2 separate regions of the Homo sapiens genome follow, and region 1 is linked to region 2. Evidence: promoter capture Hi-C in human tissues and cell types (Jung and others, 2019). All regions are on one chromosome and are shown on one strand. The core of a region is centred on a gene start or on the middle of the fragment in contact, and the rest is flanking DNA. Distances in the headings are between cores, read along the strand shown. Region 1 holds the start of FAM118A (family with sequence similarity 118 member A). Region 2 holds the start of PKDREJ (polycystin family receptor for egg jelly).

What was found. The method cuts DNA at HindIII sites, captures the fragments that hold promoters and counts their contacts. A contact is called where the count stands out against the background at its distance.
Region 1: a contact is called between the fragment with the promoter of FAM118A here and the fragment with the promoter of PKDREJ in region 2, in 1 of the 25 tissues and cell types used here (dorsolateral prefrontal cortex).

Annotation. Positions count from the first base shown.
Region 1 is chr22:45,305,149-45,311,734 of GRCh38, reverse strand. FAM118A (family with sequence similarity 118 member A) reads right to left here and starts at 1,801. Exons shown (of 9, transcript NM_017911.4): 1 at 1,552-1,801. RefSeq lists an enhancer at 1-739 and a silencer at 1,456-2,135. The HindIII fragment of the contact is 15,582 bases long and covers 1-6,586 here.
Region 2 is chr22:46,260,031-46,266,317 of GRCh38, reverse strand. It overlaps PKDREJ (polycystin family receptor for egg jelly), which reads left to right and starts at 2,975. Exons shown (of 1, transcript NM_006071.2): 1 at 2,975-6,287. The coding sequence starts at 2,996. The HindIII fragment of the contact is 11,288 bases long and covers 1-6,287 here.

The DNA of each region.
Region 1 (6,586 bases), core at 552-3,051, 950 kb after region 2:
GCTTCCTCCAAAAAAGTCTCCCCACCACAGCCACATGGATGGTTCAAAAACACACCAACTCCCGCCCCTCTCCTCCCAAAGCCCTTCAATGGCCACCCACTCCCTTTAAGTACCAAACCCTCCACTCAGCTTAAACTGGGCATGCTTTGGTCCTGACTGGCTCTCAGAATCACACCCTCTTTCTTGTCACTCCCACCTCAAACCCAGTACTCTGCAAAAGTCCCAGCTTCTCCCATACCAGGTCTCTAGCGAGACACTTCCCTCACTTCTCCCCCTGACCACCTCCCACCTTCCTTCAGCTCAGCTGGATCATTTCTCAGGACAATGGCAGGTGCAGTCGTTCAAGAAAGGGCCAAGGGCACGGTGGGCCTCCGGGAGCAAAGCTGGGTTCTCCGCAGTTAGCATTCACTCCCACGCCACCTTCATTAGGTGTGCTCCAGCCACACCTCCCGCCTTCCAACACTGTGTGCCGTGGCAGCCTCTCTGCCTTTTGACATACTGGCTGTCCCCTGAAACTCTGCCTGGAATGACCCTGGCAAACTTCTCCTCTAGCTCAACCTTCAAGAATCAGCTCACCTGCTGCTTAGCATCTCCTCCCCACGACTCCTAAGACGCCCTCCTTAACACCCACCCCTTCCCAGAATCCCATGCCCACCCAGATGGGTTCCCTGCCAGCGACGACACAGCTTCCTCCAGATAAAAACGACCTACTTGTCTTATGCCCCAGGTCCCTAGGCCCTGACAGCAGGGACCGTCTCATCTCTATTTCCAGTGTCAATTCCTGGAGCCTATCAGGCATTCAAAAACAAAATGTTAGTTCCTTGAATGAAAAAATTAAGGAGGAGACAACCTAAAAGCGTCCCCATGTGCCCTAACTCGCTCCCTCCCCGGTTCGGCCGCCCTCGGCCACCTCAGGTCTCCTGCTCTATAGACTGTCCTGTGGGGCCACCTGAGTCTCAGCAGAACATTAAAACTTAAACCCGGCCCTGCACCTGCAGGCGCGGGGACCACAGCTTAGGAGGTGGTCGTCGGGCGCGCTGTTACCGTCTTAAGTTATCACCAGACCTGGGAACACTTCCACCCACGCCCCGCAGGTCCAGGGACCTCAAGTTGGAGAAACCTAGCCCTGAGATCAGGTCGGAGAGGGAGCCTCAGGGTGGGCGGCACGGGGACCCGGGGTCTCGCGGGGCTAAGGACACTGGGAACCACGGCTCCCCACAGGAAGATGCCCCGGGCCTGGGGGCTTCTGAGGAGGTTGCTGGAAGCAAGTCCCAAGGGAACCTCGAGAGTTTCCGGAACCAACAGTTCTCAGGGCCCACTAGCGGCCGGGGTCCTCAGGGGGTCTCGGAGTCCAGAGAAAATCTTGGAGTTTCGGGGTTCGCGGGCCTGGAGGGGCAGGGCGGATCCTGAGGGGGTCTCGGGGGCAGGGGCTCCAGGGGAAGAGCTGAGAGGGAGTCCTGGGGTGGCCCCGGGGCCGGGGCGGATCCTGAGGATCTCGGGGTCCCCAGGGGCTCCGGATGCAGGGACCGCGGGCCCGCCCCGCCCCCTCACCTGCGGCGCCTCCGAGACGCTGGTCCCAGCTCGCGCTGCCACCTCTTCGCCTCCGCAGCCGGCTACGCCTCCGGGGTCTCTCGGCGGCCGCGCACCCCTGACGCTGGGCGGGGCAAGGGGATGGTTCTCGGGGAGGGGACTGCGCAGGCACGCGGGCTAGAAGCGAGAGCGAGAGCCGGAGTCGGAGCCAGAGCGGACGCCACGCCGCCTCCAGGCGCCCCTCCGCGTTAGCCGGCAGCGGCGCCGCCGCAAACCCTTCCCCCGCGCGCCCGCCCCAGCCGCGTGAACGTTCCGTCCCGAAACCAACGGCCCCGCGGTCCCCGGAGGCCCCGCCCCGGGGAAGGGCGAAGCCAGGACGCGCGCCCCGCCCCGCCCCGCCGCCAGATCCTCTGGCACCGCCCACCTCGGTGACCACGGTCCCGCCCACCGGGGAGGCCACGCCCCCGGGGTCTCCAGCGCAGGCGCGGTCGGATGTGCGGGGGAGGGCTTGCGCTGGGGAGCGCTTGGGCCTAGAGTCCGCGTCCTAGCCCTACCTGGCCCGGCGAGCCGCGCGTCCCGTTTCCTCATTTGCAGAAAGGGGGCGGGAGCACTTTGCAGGGACGTGGCGAGCATCAAGTGCGATCGGAAGCGCTCCTTTGCAACTGCATCCTGCACCACACTTAGGCACAGCTTCTGTCCCCAACCCAGACCTGAGGCTGGTCTCCGTCCCCCAGCAGACTCCTGCCCGCTTAAATTGGCCAGTCACCAGCCCTACCTTCTTTCTTTTTCAGAGTACTTGTCACTCTCCGAAATTAGGTACGCTTGTGACTGGCTCCCACTTCCCCTGAGAGCCGGTACCTTGTCCGTCTTGTCCACTGGGGGTTCCCAGAAGCCAGCACGGCGCTGGGCACACCATGGCCGCCCACATGTTTGTGCGTGCGTGAGTGTCTTCCCCGCGCTCTTCCCTCATCAAGAAATACTCTTCCCCGAGGCTGAGAATTTCTCCTAAAAATACAAGAAATACTCTTCCCCAGCTTAGGTTCGATCCGGCGAGGCCCCCTGACTCCTCGCGCATCCCTGTCGCAGGTGCCGCGTCCGTAAAGGGTGTGATCCTAGCACCTACCTTGTGGGTATTGCGAGGACTGAGATTGTGCGTGGGTGGGCTGGGCACGGGCCCCCTAGCGATCTTATTACTCCTCCTTTGTCTGCCACTGAAGTCTTTTACCTAAACAAGACCCAATCCACTTCCTCTTCCCAGCCTGCCCTGCCCAACCTGGAGTCATTTATTACTTCCTGTCTCCTTGGCACCTTTTTTTCCTGCCTGATTTTAAAGTTGGCTGTTAATATCTCCCCCTACCCTAGCCCACCAGAAAGCTCTCATTTTGTGACAGAAGGTAGTGTTGTGTTAGCGGCCTGTGAAATTTTAGGGGGGGCCAGAGCCCAGAAAACAGTGGGAGCAGTGACTCTGGGATGAAGAGGGCAGCCCCTGGGTGCTCTGTATGTGGGGTCAGGCACTCCCTGAGCACTTTGCATGCGTTCCTTCATGGTGTTCTTGGAACAACCCTATGAGGAAGGCGTCTTCATTGTTATTCCAGTTTAACAAGGGGAAGCTCAGGCCCAAGAGGTTGTGTAGTTCCATGCCTCAGCCCACACATGTAACCACCACTGCATACAGCTCCCCAACCCCTGGAGGTGCGACTTAAATGCAAAAAAAGGCCGGTGGCTCACGCCTGTAATCTCAGCACTTTGGGAGGCTGAGGCAGGTGGATCACCTGAAGTCAGCAGTTCCAGACCAGCCTGGGCAACCTGGCAAAACCTCATCTCTACTGAAAATACAAAAATTAGCCGGGCGTGGTGGCGGACACCTGTAATCCCAGCTACTCGGGAGGCTGAGGCAGGAGAATCACTTGAACCCGGGTGGCAGAGGCAGCAGTGAGCTGAGATCATGCCACTTCACTCCAGCCCGGGCAACAGAGCGAGACTCTGTCTCAAAAAAAATTTTTTTTAATGCAAAAGATATATAATTCAGTTCATGAACACCTGCTCCTGTACTGGGTGCTGAAGCCCGAGACCTGTGGGAGATGTGGCCCCTTCCCTCATGGAGCTCCCAGGCCCCAGCAAGGATTTTGATTAACAGGACCTTATGGGCTGGGTGCTGCCGAGGTCAGTCAGACCCAAGACTCTGCGCAGGGCATCCTCTGAGGGGTGGTGGGACCAAAGCAATCGTAACCTCCAGCCACATTCAGCACCATCTGAGATAGGCTGGGAGCCTCAGCCCCTCCACCCAAAAACTCAGCCAGTCAGCCTTACAAGAGCAAGGACAGCAGGAAGGATGCCTCAGGAACAAGGGCTCCCCTTTTCCCCACATCTGAGAGAAACACAGCTTTTTCTCAGGTTGTGGAAAATTACTGAGAGACACTGCCCCCTGGGCACCTTGACCATTCTGAGTAGATAAGGGGGCAGATATGGCAGGTTGGCAAGAGGTCAGCGTGGTGCTGATGTGTGGGTGTGACACATCACTGGGCACTGTGGGGTGTCCGTGTCTGTCCCAGCCTCCACGCAGCCGACGTGAGCACAGCTCACACTAATGAAGATGTATGTGCACAGCAAGCCTTGTCGTCAGGAGCCCAGCGACCAGACCTAGTCCATATCTTTCCTTTTTAAAAGTTTTCAAATTAAAATATATTTTTTAAATTTTTAATTATTTTTCATGGAGACAGAGTCTCACCATGTCTCCACCAGTCCAGGCTGGTCTTGAACTCCTGGGCTCAAGTGATCCTCCCACCTCAGCCTCCCAAAGTGCTGGGATTACAGGCATGAGCCACCGCATCCAGCCCAGACTCAATCTATTTGTGTATTGAGGGTATCTTGAGGGGCGTTGGTGCATTTGGAATGTACATACCTGTGTGTGGGCATATACACTACTGTGAATTGAGCACCTACTGTGTGTCAGGCGCTATTCTAAGCTCTTCATAGGCATACCTTTCCTCACTGTCGCTGCCACCCTGCGTGGTAGGTGTTATTAATCTCCTTTAACAGACCAAAAAACAGGCTCAGAGGCGTTAGAGCAACTAGTCCGAGCTGGTAAGTGGGCATCTGCTTGGAATTGCTGCCAGGGTCTGTCTGGCTGCAGAAGGAGCTTTGTTTTGCACTGTCAGAAAAGAGAGAGCCAACAGATTCACAGGCAGGGTCCCTGGTGGGATGCTCTAAAGAATGGACAGAAAGGACACCAGAGACCACATAACAGTCCTCCCATCCTGGAGAGGAAGTTGTTGCTTTATTCTCTGGACAAACCCACATCATAACACATATATGCCCTGCACCGGTGTACAAGAACACACCCCACAGAGATAACACGCACCATGCAATATACACCCTCACACTGTGTGTGTCATTACACATACATGCTGTAAACACACTCATGGTAAAGGAGCTAATCAAGCCTTTTAGAGCCTCCCCACATGCCACCCATGCCCATGTCTATTTCCTGTAGAAACTCTCCTGCTGCTCCCTGCATCCGGGCAGGCTGGCAGGAGGGGCTGTGATGCCATTGCTGAGCAGCAGGCGGGGTGTGTATGGCAGGCAGGGGAAGGGAAGAGGGGAGCCTGCACCTTGGAAAAGTCTCTCTGGCCCTCCTTCTCCGTCAGCTCGTCTCCTTTCCCCAGACCCCACCCGTGCCCCAGCTCAGGACCCCTTACTGCTGGCCTGGAAGTTTTGCAACAGGCTGCTCTGAGGTCTCCACTCACCAGTCCATGTCACCTGCCACCAAGACACGCCATGTCCGGGAGGACTGGCAGGAGCACTGAACAATATCTGCTGAACACCCGCTGTGTAAGGAGCCGAGGACATAGCGGGAAAACCAGCACTGCCCTCGTGGAGCTGACAACATGGTGCGCCAGGCCCCTATTGACTCCAATAAGAATGGCACCATGTCCAAGAGGCCGAAGAAGAGACCCAGAGCCAGTGAATGAGACATGGAGTTTATTGAGGACTTAGATACAAAAGTGATCCAGTGGCAGTGGCCTGGACAGGAGAAACACTATCATTTGTAAAAAGCATGCAATTTATATAGCAATTTTTGTGGAGCCCTCTCCACCTAGCAACCTCCATTTAAGCCACAACAAAGGGCCTGGATCCCCTGTACGGCCTGCATTCCAAGGGACCAACAGGCCAGGGGTTCAGATCTCTTCATAGAAAAGAAGTGAGACTCCTAGTTGGCCACTCCCAGATTCCTTAGCTCAAGACTCCAAACACACTTTCTTCTTAGACCAAAGGGTCATTTTCAGGGTATGCTTAAGTTACTGCTGTCAGGTCCATCTGCCATTCACAGCGTAGTGGGTGGGGAAATGGACAGTGAACCCGGGTGTCAGGGCGTGATGAGGCTATGAAGACAAATGAAGTTGTGTAAGGGACAGATGTTGCTACAAAATTTAAAGGGCAAGACATAGACTGAAGAAATTTGCAAAATATATGTCAGACCAAGGACCTAATCTAGAATATAACAAGAACACTCACAGTTCAATAAGAAGGGGCCAGGCACGGTGGCCCAAGCCTGTATTCCCAGCACTTTGGGAGGCCGAGGTGGGAGGATTGCTTGAAGCTGGGAGTTTGAGACCAGCCTGGGCAACATAGTGAGACCCCTGTCTCAACTAAAAAAATTTAAAAATTAGCCAGACATGATGGTGTACCTCTGTAGTCCCAGCTACTTGGGAAGCTGAGACAGCAGGAGTGCTTGAGTGAAGCAGTTGGGAGGTTTCAGTGAGGTATGATTGTGCCACTGTGCTCCAGCCTAGGTGACAGAGCGAGACCCTGTCTCTAAAACAATAAATAAGAAGAAGGTCAACAACTCAATCTTAAAAATCTGTGTAAGGCTGGGCACAGTGGCTTACACCTACAATCCCAGCACTTTGGGAGGCCGAGGCTGGCAAATTGCTTGAGCTCAGGAGTTCAAGACCAGCCTCAGCAACATGACGAAACTGCGTCTCTACAAAAAATAAAAAAATTAGCTGGGTGTGGTGATGCATTCCTGTGGTCCCAGCTACTCGGGAGTCTGAGA
Region 2 (6,287 bases), core at 1,726-4,225:
GGCTCAGAAGACAGGAGTATGTGGGAAATTTTGGAACTTCCCAGATACTTGTTGAATGGCTTTGCCCAAAATGCTGATAGTGATATGGACAATAAGGTACAGGCTGAGGTGGTCTCAGATGGGGATGAGGAACTGGAGCAAAGGTGATGCTTGTTATGTTTTAGCAAAGAGACTGGCAGCATTTTGCCCCTGCCCTAGAGATTTGTGGGACTTTGAACTTGAAAGAGATGATTTAGGGTATCTGGCAGAAGAAATTTCTAAGCAGCAAAGCATTCAAGAAGTGACTTGGATGCTGTTAAAAGCATTCGGTTTTAAAAGGGAAACAGAGCATAAAAGTTTGAAAAATTTGCAGACCGAAAATGTGATAGAAAATTCCATTTTCTGAGGAGAATTCAAACCAGCTGCAGAAATTTGTATAAATAACAAGCAGCCAAATGTTAATCCCCAAGACAATGGGGAAAAGGTCTCCAGGGCATGTCAGACGTCTTCATGGCAGCCCCTCCCATCACAGGCCTGGAGGCCCAGGAGGAAAAAGTGGTTTTGTGGGCTGGGCCCAGGGTCCCCAAGCTGTGTGCAGCCTAGGGATTTGGTGCCCTGTGTCCCAGCTGCTCCAGCTGTGGCTGAAAAAGGCCAATGTAGAGCTCGGGCTGTGGCTTCAGAGATTGCAAGCCCCAAGCCTTGGCAGCTTCCATGTGGTGTTGAGCCTGCAGTTGCACAGAAGTCAAGAATTGAGGTTTGGGAACCTCTGCCTAGATTTCAGAAGATATATGGCAACACCTGGATGCCAGGCAGAAGTTTACTGTAGGGGGAAGGCTCTCATGGAGAACCTGTGCTAGGGCAGTGTGGAAGGGAAATGTAGGGTTAGAGCCCCCACACAGAGTCCCTACTGGGGCACCGCCTAGTGGAGCTGTGAGAAGAGGGCCACCATCCTCCAGACCCTAGAATGGTAGATTCACCAACAGCTTGCACCATGAGTCTAGAAAAGCTGCAGACACTCAACACCAGCCCACGAAGGCAACCAGGAGGGAGGCTGTACCCTGCAAAGCCACAGGGGCGGAGCTGCCCAAGACCATAGGAACCCACCTCTTGCATCAGCATGAGCTGGATTTGAGACATGAAGTCAAAGGAGATAATTTTGGAGCTTTAGGATTTGACTGCCCCACTGGATTTCAGACTTGCATGGGCCCTATAACTCCTTTGTTTGGCCAATTTCTCCCATTTGGAATGGTTGTCTTTACCCAATGTCTGTACCCCACTGTATCTAGGAAATAACTAACTTGCTTTTGATTTTTTTTCTGTTTTTTGAGACAGAGTTTCGTTCCTGTTGCCCAGGCTGGAGTGCAATGACACGATCTTGGCTCACCGCAACCTCTGCTTCCCGGGTTCAAGCGATTCTCCTGCCTCAGCCTCCCGAGTAGCTGGGATTACAGGCATGCACCACCACACCCGGCTAATTTTGTATTTTTAGTAGAGATGGGGTTTCTCCATGTTGGTCAGGCTGGTCTCAAACTCCCAAGCTCAGGTGATCTGCCCGCTTCAGCCTCCCGAAGTGCTGGGATTACAGGGTGAGCCACTGCGCCCAGCCAGTTGCTTTTGATTTTACAGGCTCATAAGCATAAGCGACTTCCTTTGTCTCAGACAGGACTTTGGACTGTGGACTTTTGAGTTAATGTGAAATGAGTTAAGACTTTGGAGGACTGTTGGGAAGGCATGATTGGTTTTGAAATGTGAGGAGATGAGATTTGGCAGGGGTGGAATGATATAGTTTGGCTCTGTGTCCCCACCCAAATCTCATCTTATAGTCCCATAATTCCCACATGTTGTGGGAGGGACCGGGTGGGAGATAACTGAATCACAGGGGCAGTTTCCCCCATATTGTTCTGTGGTAGTGAATAAGTCTCAGGAGATCTGATGCTTTTATCAGGGGTTTCCGCTTTTGCGTCTTCCTCATTTTCTCTTGCCACTGCCATGCAAGAAGTGCTTTTTGCCTCCTGCCATGATTCTGAGGCCTCCCCAGCCATATGGAACTGTAAGTCCAATTAAACCTCTTTTTCTTCCCAGTCTTGGTTATGTCTTTATCAGCAGCATGAAAACGGACTAATACAGGGGAGGGCCAATTAAGACCACGAGTTTGAGACCAGCCTGTGAAACACAGCAAGACACCATCTCTACAAAAATAAAAAATAAATCAGTCAGGTGTAGTGGTGTAGACCTGTAGTATGGGAGGCTGAGGCAGGAGGATTCCTTGAGCCCAGGAGTTCAAGGTTACAGTCAGCTATGATTGCACCATTGCACTCCAGCCTGGGCAACAGAGCAAGACCCTGTCTCTAAAATCATTCAATCCATCAATCAAGTCCCAAAATATACAGCAAAAATGGACAGAGTTAAAGAATGAGGCCAGGCACAGTGGCTCATGCCTGTAATCCCAGCACTTTGGGAGGCCGAGGTGGGTGGATCACTTGAGGTCAAGCCATTGCACTCCAGCCTGGGTGACAGAGACTCCGTCTCAAAAAACAAACAAACAAACAAACAAACAAAAAACAAAACCCCCAAACCAACTAGAAAGAAAAGAGCAAAGCGACCCCAAAGTAAGAAACCGAGAGTCAGACCTTCCTGGGCGCCCAGGGATCTCACGGTTCCCTCCTGATCTCCCATTTTGTGACTGGCTTTCCCAAGGGTTCCTGCTGAAGCCCCTTCTCCGTGGTCAGCTCTGTGGTCTGCACGGGGCTGAACTGCCCTCCTGAGCCATCCTGACCCTGGGCCTGCACACACTTGGGGACGGAGAGGGAAGAGGTACCCAAGAAGTCCCCAGTGCCGACTGACCCCAAGCTCCGAGGTCCCAGCTGCTCTCTGGGACTCTGTCCCTGGGACCCCTCTGCCAGCGCCCTTCGACGCCCGAGACCCCCACTGTCCCCAAGACCCTCACTATCCCCGCGACCCCGGTGGCGGTTGGGCGCGCCTCGCGGCCTCTCCCAGCTTCTCCTGGGCCGGCGCCATGAGGCCTGGGCCCGCTCTCCTCCTTCTGGGCGTGGGCCTGAGCCTGAGCGTCGGCCGCCTCCCGCTGCCGCCGGTTCCTCGCGGGGCACAAGCCGCCGTCTCCGGGGCGCCCGGTGGCCTCCTCAGGGGCGCCCCGGGCCTCGGGGTGCGCGGCGGCCGCGCCCTCCTCAGTCTGCGGCCCAGCGCGGTGCGGGCGGGCGGCGCTGTCCTGAGCGGCCGCGGCAGCCTCTGCTTCCCCCATGGCGGGACCGGGCGGCGCTGGTACTGCCTCGACTTGCGCGTCCTGCTCAGCGCCCAACGCCTGCCCTGGCCGGCCGCGCCCGCGCTCGCGCTCGTCGACCTGCAGCTCTCCGCGCGCGGCGGCCGCCTCTCCCTGACGTGGTCCGTGCGGCTGCCGCGCTCGCCCGGGCGCCTGGCCTGGGCCTTCCGCCTGCGGCTGCTCGGACCCGGCGCCGCCCGCCCGGCCTCCCCCGCGGCCCGCGTCTCCCCGCGCTCCGCCGCGCCAGGCCCGCGGCCCCAGCAGGGCTTCGTGGCCCGCACCGAGTGCCCCACAGACGGCCCCGCGCGCGTGATGTTGCAGGCCGTCAACTCGTCCAGCCACAGAGCCGTCGAGTCGTCCGTGTCCTGTCAGATAAACGCCTGCGTCATCCAGCGCGTGAGGATCAACACGGACCAGAAGGGCGCCCCCGTGCGCCTGAGCATGCAGGCGGAGGCCACCATCAACGCCTCGGTGCAGCTGGACTGCCCGGCCGCGCGCGCCATCGCCCAGTACTGGCAGGTGTTCTCCGTGCCCGCCGTGGGTCAGGCGCCCGACTGGACGCAGCCCTTGGATCTGCCCCAGCTCGAGATCAGGAACAGCCCCTTGTTCATTCACATCCCCAATAATTCGTTACAGTGGGGAGTGTATGTGTTTAATTTCACGGTGTCCATCACCACAGGGAACCCCAAGATGCCCGAGGTGAAAGACTCGGACGCCGTCTATGTCTGGATCGTCAGGAGTTCCCTGCAGGCGGTGATGCTTGGCGATGCCAACATAACAGCTAATTTCACAGAGCAGCTGATTCTGGACGGGTCCACGTCCTCGGACCCAGATGCGGACAGCCCGTTACAGGGACTCCAGTTCTTTTGGTACTGTACCACAGATCCCAGAAACTACGGTGGGGATCGAATAATCCTGGGGAGCAAGGAAGTCTGTCACCCCGAGCAGGCCAATCTGAAATGGCCCTGGGCCTCGGGCCCTGTACTGACACTTTTGCCAGAAACACTTAAAGGCGACCACGTGTATTTCTTCAGAATGGTGATTCGGAAGGACTCTAGGACAGCGTTTTCTGATAAGAGGGTCCACGTGCTCCAAGGACCAAAAGCCATAGCACACATCACATGTATCGAAAATTGTGAGAGAAACTTCATTGTCTCTGATAGATTTTCTTTGTTCCTAAATTGCACAAATTGTGCAAGCCGTGATTTCTATAAATGGTCAATTTTGTCTTCTTCAGGTGGTGAGATGCTATTTGATTGGATGGGGGAAACTGTAACAGGAAGGAATGGTGCTTATCTGTCTATAAAAGCTTTTGCTTTTCGGCATTTTTTGGAAGCTGAGTTTTCGATTTCTCTGTATCTAGCATGTTGGAGTGGAGTGACCTCGGTCTTCAGGCATTCTTTTATTATTAACCATGGCCCTCAGATCGGAGAATGCAAAATTAATCCAGCTAAAGGAATTGCACTTATTACTAAATTTGTTGTCCAGTGTAGTAATTTTAGGGATAAGCACGTCCCTCTTACATATAAAATAATTGTTTCTGATTTGCACAGTGTTGGTGAAATCAGTTCAGTAAAAGAGAACACCCTGGGGACCATCCTGTACTTGGGGCCTCAGTCCACAGTACCCCCTTCCTTTCTCCCTGTTGGTATGTTGGCTAGTCAATATGGCTTGAAGATATATGCCCAGGTCTATGATTCTCTAGGAGCTTTTTCTCAGGTGACTTTGCATGCCACCGCACAGGCTCCCACTGACAAAAATTCATCAAAGACAGTGTTGAATCAGTTACTCAGTTTCACCGTGGGACCAAGTTCATTGCTGTCTACTTTGATTCAAAAGAAGGATTTTTTACCTGCAGGTTACTTACTGTATATAGTAGCTTCCGTTTTGAATAACATGAAAACTGAATTACCTCTCCGAGATGACAGAGTCAATCTCCGAAAACACCTCATCGATCAGTCTTTCCTTCTTCCTGTAAGCACTTTGGTAGAAATTGGCCAGGTAGTCATGACTATTACCAAATTAACCCAGAAACCCTCTGAATTCACTTGGGATGCTCAGAAACGTGCCACCATGAGGGTATGGCAAGCAAATCAAGCCCTACAAGAGTATCAGCAAAAAGATAAACGCTTTCGATCTGAACAAATAGAAATCGTGAGTACTGGAATACTAATGAGTTTGTCTAATATTCTTAAAATGACTTCTCCTCACCAAGTAGTTAAAGATCCTTTCTATGTAATAGAATCTCTATCAGACACAATACTGGCTAATAAAGTGCCAGGGAACAAAACCACCTCAATGAGAACCCCCAATTTCAACATGTATGTCAAGAAAGTTGAAAAGTGGGGTATCAACCAGCTCTTCAGAAATGAGAAACACTGCAGAAATTGTTTTTATCCAACACTCAATGTGAGCAGTGTTCCTGGTCTGTCTGCAAATGGTCCCATTTCTACAATGTTTTGTGATTTCACAAATGACCTCTTTCCTTGGTTAAATGATCAGGAAAACACTTCGGTGGAGGTGTCTGGATTCAGAATGACAGGAGTTGCAGATAACGGTAGTGTGCTAGAGATCACACCTGATGTAGCGGAAGTGTACCTTGTCAGGAAAAACTTGACCTTTGCAGCTTTTAATCTCACAGTGGGACCCAACAGCGAGGTTGATGGGTCCTTGAAGAAGACGACAGGTGGGTTTAGCTTTCAAGTGGACAGCACAGTGCTTAGGGAGGTTCTGGTCCACATAGTAACAGAAGTGATGGTGCTGTTCACAGTGTTGGTGTACACAGGCAGTCAGATCACTCCCACAGCGCTGGTCGCCACCTTCCTGGTGCCTCATGACATCCCTCCATTTGCCAGCCAGAGTGCCCTGTTTGACCCAGCCTGCACAGTGAAGAAGGCCCGTGTAGTCTGCCTCCCTGTGTCCCTGCTGCAACTCATAGCTCAGCACAGCCACTCTCCCCACTGTACTGTATCCATAGTTCTGCAGGCACCTCGTTTTGTCATGAAGCTCAATGACAAGCTAGTGAGAATTT